Linked DNA regions of Homo sapiens: region 2 is linked to region 1. Evidence: promoter capture Hi-C in 16 types of primary human blood cells and fetal thymus (Javierre and others, 2016). All regions are on one chromosome and are shown on one strand. The core of a region is centred on a gene start or on the middle of the fragment in contact, and the rest is flanking DNA. Distances in the headings are between cores, read along the strand shown. Region 1 holds the start of CYP2R1 (cytochrome P450 family 2 subfamily R member 1). Region 2 overlaps RRAS2 (RAS related 2).

The links. The method cuts DNA at HindIII sites, captures the fragments that hold promoters and counts their contacts. A CHiCAGO score of 5 or more calls a contact.
Region 2: a fragment that was not itself captured here is called in contact with the fragment with the promoter of CYP2R1 in region 1 in 1 of 17 cell types (fetal thymus); the score reaches 5.8 in fetal thymus.

The regions. Positions count from the first base shown.
Region 1 is chr11:14,889,989-14,896,365 of GRCh38, forward strand. CYP2R1 (cytochrome P450 family 2 subfamily R member 1) reads right to left here and starts at 2,243. Exons shown (of 5, transcript NM_024514.5): 1 at 1,993-2,243. The coding sequence starts at 2,217. It also overlaps a transcript of PDE3B not described here. RefSeq lists a silencer at 1,751-1,990. The HindIII fragment of the contact is 6,013 bases long and covers 2,207-6,377 here.
Region 2 is chr11:14,344,702-14,351,078 of GRCh38, forward strand. All of the region lies in intron 1 of RRAS2 (RAS related 2), which reads right to left. Among named protein-coding and RNA genes, the nearest start is that of RRAS2, 11 kb to the right of the region's middle. The HindIII fragment of the contact is 4,460 bases long and covers 1,316-5,775 here.

The DNA.
Region 1 (6,377 bases), core at 993-3,492:
CGTGGTGGCGAGCACCTGTGGTCCCAGCTACTCGGGAGGCTGAGGCAGGAGAATGGCGTGAACTCGGGAGGCGGAGCTTTCAGTGAGCCGAGATGGCGTCACTGCACTCCAGCCTGGGTGACAGAGCAAGACTCGTCTCAAATAAAAAAAGAAAGAAACTAATAACATACACAATAACCAAGAACACTTGAGTAGCACTTTTCTGTTTTCTGTTGTTATTCTCACTACCGAGAAAAAAAAAAGACTCAGAATAGAGGTCAAGTTTTGTCTGGCAGAAGACCTGACCTCTAGTCTTATGCTTTCACATTTTATTTCTCTAGAATATTATGATGCTGTGTACCAAGATACCAAAGAGATGAAATATATTACATGAAAATCATGGGAATAAACTCAATTCTGGGAGAATTGCAGGTTGGAAAATAAGATCTAAGAATTATACATACCTTTATTATCTCGTCCAGCTTCCCTTTAACAACGTAAACTATTCGTGAACCATGAAAGGAACGTAAACCATTAGTGACTTTCTATTCTAGAAACCTAGACCAATTCTTTTTTTTTTTTTTTTTTTTTTTTTTTGAGACGGAGTCTGGCTCTGTTGCCCAGGCTGGAGTGCAGTGGCGCGATCTCGGCTCACTGAAAGCTCCGCCTCCCGGGTTCACGCCATTCTCCTGCCTCAGCCTCCCGAATAGCTGGGACTACAGGTGCCCGCCACCACGCCCGGCTAATTTTTTGTATTCTTTTAGTAGAGATGGGGTTTCACCGTGTTAGCCACGACGGTCTCGATCTCCTGATTTCGTGATCCGCCCGCCTCGGCCTCCTAAAGTGCTGGGATTATAGGCGTGAGCCACCGCGCCCGGGCACCTAGACCAATCCTTGTAAAAATTGGTTTAAGTAAGGATTTAAGGTCAAACCTGAAATACCACAGTTGCCAAACATCCCTGTACTTTTCCTTCAAAACACTGACCACAGCCTGTGGCCGATAATGAGATTAGTTTTCTCTCTCCCACTCATCTGCCAACTCCTTAAAAGGCTGTATCTGCCTTCTTCACCGCTAGCGTCAGGCCTGTAGTTGCATATAAATAAGTGTAATTCAAAACAAAACAGGTGAGCTCTGTCCCAGGACCCGTGGAAACTCCTGCCCCCTCCGGACGTCGGGACACCCACACACAAGCGGTGGTCGCCTTTTCCGCTGCCAGTCACAGGGCATTTCCGTGCTGCTTTCCCCTCCGCAGAATGAGGAGGAGCGAAGTACCGACCTCACCGGCTGGTTATGAGTTTTAAATGAGTCACCAAGTTGGCAGTGACAGTGGCACACAGAAGGCGCCTTTTAAGTATCTGCTAAGGTGCCGTTCCCAGCCAGTCAGAACGGCATTACCATCTGCGCTGTAGGACCCCCGCAGCGGATTTTAGTCATCAATTCATTCACGCGTTCACAATCGTTTCCCAGGGCCCGCTTCTCAGTCAGGGGCGTTCCCCTGCATTCTCCATTCTCACAGCAAACGCCTACACCAGTCGTTCGTCGACTGCAGACACCGAAGAACCTGCTATTAACCATCTAGAACTCAGAACGCCTTGATTTTCCGACAAGCCGCGTGCAGCTTCCACAGAGCTGCGAGGCCGACTCGCAAGACGCCCGCACCTGAGGGCATGCGTCCACCCTGGACCTGAAGTGGCGGCGCGGCTGGCGAGCCAAACGGCGCAGGCGCAGGAGCAAGAGCTCGAGCGGTAGCGGGAAAATCAGGACTGGATCGCCTCGGAGCCTCGGCCCGGAGTGGGTCACCGGCAGGGGCGGGGCTCCCCCTGCAAGGGGGCACGGCGTCGAGGACTTCTCCCTTCCAGACCCGGGAAGCGGGTGTCCCTCAAAGGGCAGCCGGCACACGGAGAGGTCCCGACTAGTCGGCCCAGGGGCGGCCATAAGTCCAACCAGGAAGGCCCTGGCCAGCCCGGGCCAGCCTGGCGGCCCTCCCTGCCCGGGGCCCGTCGGGGCTGTACCTCTCCGTACACCTGGCTCTGCTTTCTCATGTAGACATGGGGAAGCTCGGATGAGGCTGCCAGGGAATAGATGTTGCCGATAAATGGCAGCCCCGGCGGCCCCGGGGGGAAGCCCATCGGCCGCCTCTGCTTCAGCAGCTGGCGGACCCCTAGCGCGAAGAGCAGCAGGAAGAGCGCGCCGCCGAGCGCCGCCGCGCCCTCTTCAGCTCTCCAAAGCTTCCACATCGGCCCGAGCTGGAGGTGCGAACTCCACAGCAGCCCTGAGACCCAGGCACTCCCTCCAGCCCTGCCATACTCCCATTGGCAGGATACCCTCAGGTCCCGCCCTAGCTCCGTGGCCATTGGCTGACTGAGTGAGCGCTCAGGCCCCTTCGGGACAACTACCTTCTAGTTTTGCGCGGCTGAGAGTGGACTTTGCGGAGCGGGTGGCCGGTGCTACCCTTTGGAGGTGGCGCGGCTCTAGGCGGAGCAATGAGCCAGGAGTCCGTTTTCTAGAATGTTGACACAAGGGCATTGACGAGGTGTCAGGACGGCCTCACTCACTGGGCTAGGCGGATCCTGCCTCTCTGGGGCCAGACCTTTCTTAAAGTGTCTTTTTAAGTACCAGGTCTGCTTATTTCATTTCACACTAGGAAAACTGGAGAGATGATCAACACTGCAGTCTTTAGCTGAACCTGATACTTTTCAGAATTTCCAGTAGAAAATTGACCCATCAGTAGTAAAAGAAAGTAATTTTACTGTTTTGTCCTGTTTTACTATTTTTCTCCTGTTAATGTATTTTTGTGTGTGATCTTTTAATAATTGTGATGATTGAGCAGTTTATGTGATTAACTCAGTTTACCTATATTTGACCCCTCTCTGGTCTTTCCAAACTGATTACTTATTGGCAATCACGGGACTCTTGTCTGCACTTGTTCACGGAGAGTATTTACTATTCAAGATTTCTGCCTCCACTGCCTGGAATTAAGCAACTGATTTCATATTATTCTTGCTAATTGTTTTTATTCCTGTTTTCTATTGGGCAGTTCCTTGCAATACAGGACTTACTGGGTTTGGGACTCTTCTAACAGCTGCCCTCTAATTGTGATTTAGCAGTGGCATGAGTTTTATGGTCCTCATTAGCTTACGACTCATTCACACAACAAATATTTATTGAATGTCTACTATGTTCCCATGTCCTAAGCAATGGAGATACATAGGTGAATAAGAGCAACAAAGTCCTTTCTATAACTTACATTCTTATGAGAGGGAAGAGCAATGACATGGAAATACAATAATTTTCAATAATCAGAAGCAAACAAAAAGTGCGTTATAGAAAACGCCTGGTGGTTGGGGAGATACTTTAGCAGGCAAGGGCTGTCAAGGAAAGTCTTATTAGGAAGATGACATTGGAGCTGAGATCAACTGCTAAAGAAGTGTATTTGTTTCCTACTACTGTTGTAATAAATTACCACCAATCTGATGGCTTAAAACCACACAAATTTATTTTCTTACAATTCTTGAGGTGAGAAGTCCAAAATGAGTCTTCCAGGGCTGACAGAGAGGTGTTAGTGGGGCTTCATTCTTTCTAGAGACTGTAGGAGAGATTCTATTTCCTTGTCTTTTTCAGCTTCTAGAGGCTGCCCACATTCCTTGGCTTTCGTCCCCATTCCTTCCTCTTCAAGGCCATTAATGTCAGTTTGAATCCTTCCAACATCGCTGTCTCTCTGATTATCTCTCTTCTACTTCCTTCTTCCACTTATAAGGATCGTTGTGATTATATTGGGCCCACCTGGATAATCCCAACTCAAAGATCAGCTGATTAGCCCTTTAATTCCATCTGCAACCTTAATTCTTCTTGCCATGAAACCTAACATATTCACAGTTCTAGGGATTAGTATGTGGACCTATTGGGGGAGGGGAGCATTATTCTGCCTACTATAGAAGAGAAATTTGAGGCAGATATGGGGGAAAATATTCCAAACAGAGGAAATATCAAGGGCAAAGGCTTCATATACTAAGCAAACCTTGTCCTCTGAGAGTGTTTCCAATTTCTCTCCATCTCCCACGCAAGGACACTGCGGAAGTCAGCAAGTTAGTCAGGTCTTTGAGTTTTTCTGTTTAACTGGCTTGTGACTATCCCCAGGGGCTGAAGTTACCCCCACAGGTATGTGTCACAGTATCTGCAGCCACAGAATATCTACCTACTGCCTATTACAAATGCCTATTAAGAGATACCTTAAAATTCTTATTAATCAATAATCTAATAAAATGAAAAAATAATTGTGAGAGATCATTACTAAATTTGGTCTCTAGTTTCTTACCAAAGGCCAGTGGAGATGACACAGGATGGATATTGGGACTGTGGGTGGGAGGCAATGCTGCTGAGGCACCAGGAGCTGAGGAATATCACCTATGGGATGCCTGAGATCAACCCTGCCTTTGCAACACCAGGAGGCTTACAGTTTTTGGTCTGGCCACAGCTGTTATACAGTACAGGTACTTGGTTCAGGAGTGGGCCCCCTGCCATCATTTATTTTCAGAAAGGATTAATTTTCATTACAAAAATATCCTCCAATTCACTTAAATTAAGGAGCATTCCTTCTTTGGCATTCTTTCCCTGGCTACATAGCAGAGGAGAGCTGAGTTACCCCGAGGCAGCCATTTCTGACTGACAGCACTGATGAAATGTTCCCCACCCCACCCCACCACAGCTCCCCTTGAGAGATAATAGGTGGGGTATTCTCAGGAATAACTATAAGTCTTTCAGGACATAGAGCCTTCCCTGTAACAGTTTATCATGTTCCCTCAGCTCAATAAGGAGAAATCCCTCCCTTATTCCCCCTTCTTGCATTTGCTCTTTGAGTGATAGAAAACAATCAATAATGTTTGTCTATGGCTTTTATCATGACAGGAAGGTTTAGGGCAGCAGGAAGTTAAGTATTTCACTGTTTCATGGCTGAGATCTCATCTTCAGTACTCGGGGTGGAATGGGTGAACACACTGTATAGGGCTTTGCCATTTCTATGTGCAGAACAGTAATGGTTCTAACAGAGAACAGCAATGCTGTGCCAGAATCAGAGCCTCTTTCTGGGCCTTTGGGAACTGAACCCAAGCTCCAGGGCTCATCCTGAGGGGCAGTATCAAGTGAGATTCTCCTGGGGTCCCTTTCTGTTCTTGAATGGCTGCAGCCCTGGCCTGGGCCGTGGGAGTTGTCCCAGAGAGCTCCCCACACAGAGTGATGCAATCAGCGCAAATGTGCCTCCTTTGCATGTTCCATTATGTGCATTCTCAGTGTGTTTCATCAGAATTGAAGGAAGTGAGAGCCAAAGGAAGTGCCAAGCTGAGCCATACTGGAGGCTGAGCTAAAAGAAAAAAGTCAATAATAGTGATCCTGCCTTATTAAAAATTTGATGTCTTGTTCGTAATGGGTTTTTGCCTCAATTTTGATTTTAAACTGTTGCATTAAAGTGTTATCTTGCTTTTGATCTTCTTGGAGCCCTCTTAAATTCTGTTCCCAAGGTGAATTTCTCACTTGCCTTATCCTAGTCCTCATGCTGGGAGGTAGGGTACCCAAATGAAGACTTTGATTACAAAATGATGTGTAGAAACTGAATTCGTGCACTTGGATTTTCATTGTGCTCTTAGGAGCCAGGCACTGAGGTGGGGCTGGCAGACCAGTAGCACTTCTGGGTGAGATTAGGAACCTTATGAAAGTCTCCCTGTGACCACTTTAAAAAGTCCTCCTCACCCCACTGCCTGAAGTTCAGTCTTTACAAATTAAATGATACTAATTGAACATTCCCTATAACAGGCTAAGTTGGAAAATGCAAAACCTGGTGGCAGGAGAGTACAGCAATAGGAAGTTCTAAAAACGCTTATACATGAATGAATTTAATCCCACATTTACAGGCAAGGCCGAATGAGGGACATGATGACATGGATTTATTGGAGGTGGTGGCATGGTGATGATGATGATGGTGGTGGGTGTGGGGGTTTCAGAAGAGGATGCAGAAGGGGAAAGGAAGTTTTACAGAGAAACTTCTTTCCCTTCACAATTTTTCCAAAGGCTAGATCAACTTAGAGAAATCACATTTCTCAGAAGCAGGAGTTATTCCTGCCATTTCCTAGGGATACTCAGCCAACCAATCCTTGCCACTTCCTCCCATCCAGCTACCCACTGGGCCATCTTCTGTCATGATATCTTGTATTCCTTTCCTTGTGTTTCAAAAAAATAGAAATGCATGAACACTTCATGATCTTGTTGAAGACCCTCTTCCAAATGCAGTAACAGAGAGTCAGAGGAAGTTTAGTGTTCTATCCAAGTCACACAAGATAGCACCAGTAGAACCAGAATTCTGGGCTCTGGACTTGCCATGTGTTCTTTCAGTCATTCACCACAAATG
Region 2 (6,377 bases), core at 2,296-4,795, 540 kb before region 1:
CTCTCAGACTGTTGTATACTTCCCAAGTCAGAATTGCCAGACAGAAATTAAGAAAGGACTATCTTCTCCAAAGACTATTTTGGCTAAAACCGAATGCTACGGATCAACTTCTAAAACTCAAGATTCAACGTGTATATGCCACACATGATTTCTGAAATCCAAAATGATAGCCAGCTCTTTCTCTTCTTCAGTAACTAGATGCTATGGAACCATAATAGATACAACTCATCTTTCCAAAAGCCTCTTTTTTCCACTATTTATTTCCTGTGCCCTACTCAAGACTTTATTTTTTTTTTTTTTTTTTTTGAGACAGTCTCACTCTGTCACCCAGACTGGAGTGCAGTGGTGTGATCTCAGCTCACTGCAACCTCCACTCCTGGGTTCAAGAGATTCTTCTGCCTTAGCTTCTCAAGTAGCTGGGATTATTGGCGCGTGTCACTATGCCCAGCTAATTTTGTATTTTTAGTAGAGACGAGGTTTCACCATGTCAGCCAGGCTGGTCTGGAACTCCTGACCTCAAGTGATCTGCCCTACTCAGCCTCCCAAAGTGCTGGGATTACAGGAGTGAGCCACCGCACCTGGCCTCCACTCAAAACTTGATACTAGCAAATAGCAACAAATATTTTGTTGTGCTTAGTTCTGTGTAACAAAGGTATTCCTAGTCTACGATTCTGAAAATGCAAATATGAATAAAATGTACAAATATAACTAAGAGACATAGATACAGACAAAGCACACCAAATATATAAAGTCCTCTACTAAAATACTTATAGTCTAGTGCTTACAGGGTTTAAGATAATGTCAAGGTGAACCAGACACAGATCGTTGTTCAAGGTCTGAGCTACAGAAGAACAAAAGAAGGAAAAAGGGATCGTTTTCTAATCCATAACCTTCTTTTAAGAATACACACACTCTTCCACTTGCCTCACTGCAGAAAGCTGTGGTATGAAGGATTTAAAAACTTGAAAACTATCCCTTTTAAACATCTCTAATTCTACAAAAGTATACCTCTCAGCCAAAAGCCCATATTTGGAGATTAAGATTTAGAGGGTGTAGTAAAATTTTGTATTTGTTGAAATTCTGCTACTGATAATCTCCAAGAAACTGAAGCTCTCCAACGTCAACTTGCTGTTTAGCACCAAAACAAAGCAGAAATCTCAGTACCCCAAGGCAATTCTGAGAGATGACCAGCTCTTAACTTCCTAAACCAAAAATAGCTATGAGCAACTCTTCATGAATAAACAAGAAAAACAAATATATTCTTCCACACAAAGAAAAATCACTTCCCTGTAAGTTGTTTCATTAAATAGTATCAAGCTTTACAAAAATACCAGTTTTGTGGCCTTCTGAAAAGACAAGAGAACATTACCGTTGTTTAATATCAGACCGAGAAATCAAGGGCACTAAATATGTTTTGGAGACAGTAATTATGTGTGACATCCAGAAAATTTCATCAAGGATGGAGAAGACAAATTTGATAAATCTTCCTAGAATAGAGAGGATCTTATCCTTTTCATTAGCTAACTTAAAACAATGTACTATAAAGTTACAGAAAATCAATGTGTAAATAATAGGTACTTAAGAAGATAACTGAAAAAAATGAATACAAAAATGGAGAAGTCTTCCCAGACCTGAGAGTGTTTCATCATTTCCCTGAGAATACTAGTGACAGAGAAAAACTTCTAGTCATATCCTGATAAATGTGTCCATTTCCAATGATAAGAGAATGCTGCAAGCATACACCTAGTGAAGTTATTTCTACAGAAACTTGAGGCCAGACAAAGATAACAAATAAAGCAGGACCTCTACTGTTATAACACAAAAATGTTGGGACCCAATAATTTTATACCCAGCCAAATCATCATTTATCATGCAAAAGTAAATTTAATCTTAGATATGTTTTCAGTAAAAAGTACTTGGAAATGTTCTTTAAATCACAATTCAAAATAAAAAGTAGCTGTAAAGCATAGTAACTATAGTTAATAACAATATATTGTACTCTTGTAAAAAGCTGAGTGGATGTTACATGTTCTCACCACAAAAATGACAACTATGTGACATAGTACGTATGTTAGCTATATTTAGTCATTCCACAATGTATATATACTTCAAAACACCCTGTTGTACATAATAAATACATACAATTTTATCTGTCAATTTAAAAATAAAAAGGCCAGGCACAGTGGTTCACGCCTATAATACCAGCCCTGTGGGAGGCCAAGGTGGGAGGATTGCTTGAGGCCAGGAGTTTAAGACTAGCTTGGGCAACAAAATGAGACCCCATCTCTAAAAAATAAAAATAAAAAAGTTAGACGGGCATGGTGGCATATGCCTGTAGTCCTAGCTACTCAGAGGGCTAAGACAGGAGGAGGGTTACTAAAGCCTAGGAGTTTCAATGTTGCAGTAAGCTATGATCATGCCACTGCACTCCCGCTTGGACAACAGAGCAAGACCCTGTCTCTAAATAAAGACAATTTTAAAAATAATTAATTAAAACTAGCTGTTCATGAGGATTGTTTGTAAACACTAAAACCAGGTAGAATGATAGAAATGGCAAATAAAAGCAATAACCCTTAATGACAAACGGATTAATGCCAATGGGTATTAACTATTGTAATTGTAATAACAAAACAGAATGCAGAAGATTTTTGAAATCTTTTAAAAATACTGAATCTGACACAATTTTGGTTGTTGTAAATAAGGACAAAAAATGTACGAAAGGAGTGGGTAGAAACAGGGTTAACAAAAGTGCTTAATTCTCATTTTCTGTAACTGGGAATAAGACACTATTTTCTGATTCCCTAATTATGTATGTTTAAAAATATAAATCATTTTATACAGGGACAGATGGCTCACACCTGTAATCCCAGCGCTTTGGGAGGCCAAGACAGGAGGATCACTTGAGGCCAGAAGTTCAAGACCAGCCTGGGCAACATAGCGAGACCTCGTCGCTACAAAAAATCAAAAACTTAGGTACAGTGGCTCACACCTGTAGTGCCCGCGCTTTGGCAGGCAGAGGCAGGAAGATCATTTCAGCCCAGGAGTTCCGAGGGTGCAGTGACCTGTCATCACACCACTACACTACAGCCTGACCTGGGCACCAGAGCAAGACCCTGTCTTTAAAATTTTTAAAAGAATATAAATAATTTTTAAGATAAATTCCAGTAGAAAAAAAAAAATCTACTTTCCAAAAACCACCACAGAACACAGAAAAAAACAAAAACAGTTGTACAGCAAAAGACACACTTGGTGCAAAGGGAGGAAGTTATTATGCTAAATAAAGATTAGAGTTTATGGACAAAACCTTACTGGCCTAACCTAAATTTATCAACCTTTCCCTCCCAAGACATCTGGCTACAAAATTAAGAAGATATATTTTTTAAACAGAAAAAAACCTGGTCCCCTTTATGCTCTGCTTGGTTCCTTTAGGCTTAATTTCATTCAATGCCTCGCTGAACAAATTATAAAGACAAGATCTCATTAGCATAACAAAGTAAAACAAACTCTGCTCATTATTATTATGTAGAGTAACATCAAAGATGTTGACTTTCATCACATGGGCAAGTTGGTGTCAGATTTCCCCCTGTAAAGTTGTTATTTTCCCCCTGTAAAATTAACAATAACTTATGAGAACATACTTTGAGACTATATTAACATCTACTACTCTCAAACTTTCACATACTAGTTTTAACATCCATTTTTACCCACTTAGTTTTAAGATCCATTTATGGTTCTTACTTAAATCAACTGTTATAATTGCCAAAAGGCAACTTACTAATTCCACCTTTTCCTTTATGTTCATTCATTAGTCAGAATTCTACATTAAGGACTTCTAGATCATTTATTTATCATAGATCCTTACTCTATTTATGGGTAATAAACAAGTACTGCCTTATTTATTTCAATGATTAAATTGCCCTATAGTCAGTCAATGGGAGTTTTGCCAGGCTGGCTCCTGTGTCTCTTTCAAATATCCCCATCATTTTACCTTTTTGAGCACTCCCTTATGAGACTACAAGATGCTCCAAGCATATTTTGTATTTTTTCCTTCCCCTATTCTGGAATCCTCCATTTCTCTAAGGTTCCTTCCAGTAGAGAATAGTATTAATGGTATTTAGAAACCAAGATCTAGTGCTAGGTGATCTCATTGCTAAAGGGGTATCACTGCTTCCTGGCCATCTTAGCAGACAGAAGTGGAAAAAGATGTACAGATGTACGCATGTGTATCCATAATGAGATCTATTTCTATATCTACATACTTCTTTTTTTGTTTCTTGTTTTTGAGATAGAGTCTCGCTCTGTTGCCCAGGCTGGAGTGCAGTGGCGCGATCTCGGCTCACTGCAAGCTCCGCCTCCCAGGTTCACGCCATTCTCCTGCCTCAGCCTCCCAAGTAGCTGGGACTATAGGCACCCGCGACCACGCCCGGCTAATTTTTTGTATTCATTTTTTATTTTTATTATTTTTTTTAGAGACAGAGTCTTGCTCTGTCACCCAAGCTGGACTGCAGTGGCGCGACTTGGCTCACTGCAACCTCCACCTCCCAGGTTCACACCATTCTCCTGCCTCAGCCTTCTGAGTAGCTAGGACTATAGGCACCCGCCACCACACCCGGCTAATTTTTTTTTTTTTTTTGTATTTTTAGTAAAGAGGGGGGTTTCACTGTGTTAGCCAGGATGGTCTCGATCTGCTGACCTCGTGATACACCCGCCTCAGCCTCCCAAAGTGCTGGGATTACAGGTGTCAGCCACCACACCCGGCCTATATCTACATACTTCTAAAACTATGAATTTATGCCACTATCTGCAATTCCAATCAAACATCAGAGTTCATTTTAACCTTCACATTTTTCACCTTTGTAACTCCCTTCTCCAACAGTGAGAAACTGGCTCCCATTTTCCACAATATATTTACTTATTTGCTTATAACAGTATAGACAATTGCTTCAAAATTGCAAACCCATGCCTTTATGACAACAACAAAAACCAAAAATTCTAGTTAACTCTATTAACTAGAGTTCAATGTTTCTTTCAATCTTTTTGTCTTTATCCTGAGGACAGAGTTCAAATACTAGGATCAAAAGTTACCTAAATTAGTTGTTTTTCACTCCTTCAGTGTAGTTAAGTTACTCATTTGAAATACGGTTCAGTTCATTTGTTTCTATTTGTACTCCCTGTTAAGGTGTTTTTATTTGTCATCAGTTGATTTGGTTGGTGTGTTTGCTGCTTATATACTCAGTATGTGAAACATTAACATGGTTTCAAAAGTCAGAAAGGTATCCTCAGAAGGGTCCCTGCCCCCATTCCCTCTATCCTTTCCACCATATACCTTTTTACCCATCCTCTAGGAAATCAATCTTATCAACCTCCAATTTATCTTTGTGTTTTGTTTTTGCCCCAATGAACAAATACATACGTATTTTCTTATTTCTCCTTCTTTCTTACACAAAAGGTAGTATACACACAGTAGTAGATACTTTTGCACTTTTTTTTCACTGACTGTAAGTTTGGTTTGTGCGATTCCTCCAAATCTCATATTGAAATCTGATCCCCAAAGTTGGAGGTGGGGCTTAATGGGAGGTGTTTGGGTCATGGGGATGAATCCCTCATGAATAGATTAATGCCCTCCCTGGGACTGGGGTGTGAGTGAGCTCTTACTTATTAGTTCCACCACAGCAGGTTGTTAAAAAGAGCCTGGCGCCTCCCCCACTGGCTTGCTTCCTCTCACCATGTGATCTCTGCACATGCCACTCCCCTTCATCTTCTGTCATGAATGGAAGCTTCCTTACACCCTCACCAGAAGCAGATGCTAGTACTGTGCTTCTTGTACAGCCTGCAAAAACTCTAAGCCAACAAAACCTCTTTTCTTTATAAATTACCCAGCCTCAGGTATTCCTTTAGGGCAGGGGTGTCCAATCTTTCGATTTCCCTGAGCCACACTGGAAGAACTGTCTTGGGCCACACATAAAATACGCTAAACTAACGATAGCTGACGAGGTTAAAAAAAAAATTGCAAAAAAAAAATCTCATGTTTTAAGAAATTTTATGAATTTGTCTTGGGCCACATTCAAAGGTGTCCTGAGCCGCATGCCACTCGCAGGCTGAGTGTTGGACAAGCTTGTTTGAAAGCAAGACAAACCAAGACAAGTGAACAACATATCCAAGAAAGCACTCCATATCAGTTAATCATGCCCTCAGTCTTTTTCACAGGTGCATAATGCTCCATTGGATATTCCTACCACGTAGACTGCTTGTTAATTTTTGTAATTAAGAAATGCTGCAACCTTGTACATGTGTATTTTCATACTGTGGGAAGTGCATCTTCTGGGTAAATTCTGAGATTTGGGACTGCTGAGTCAAAAGGCATGTATGTGGTCAAA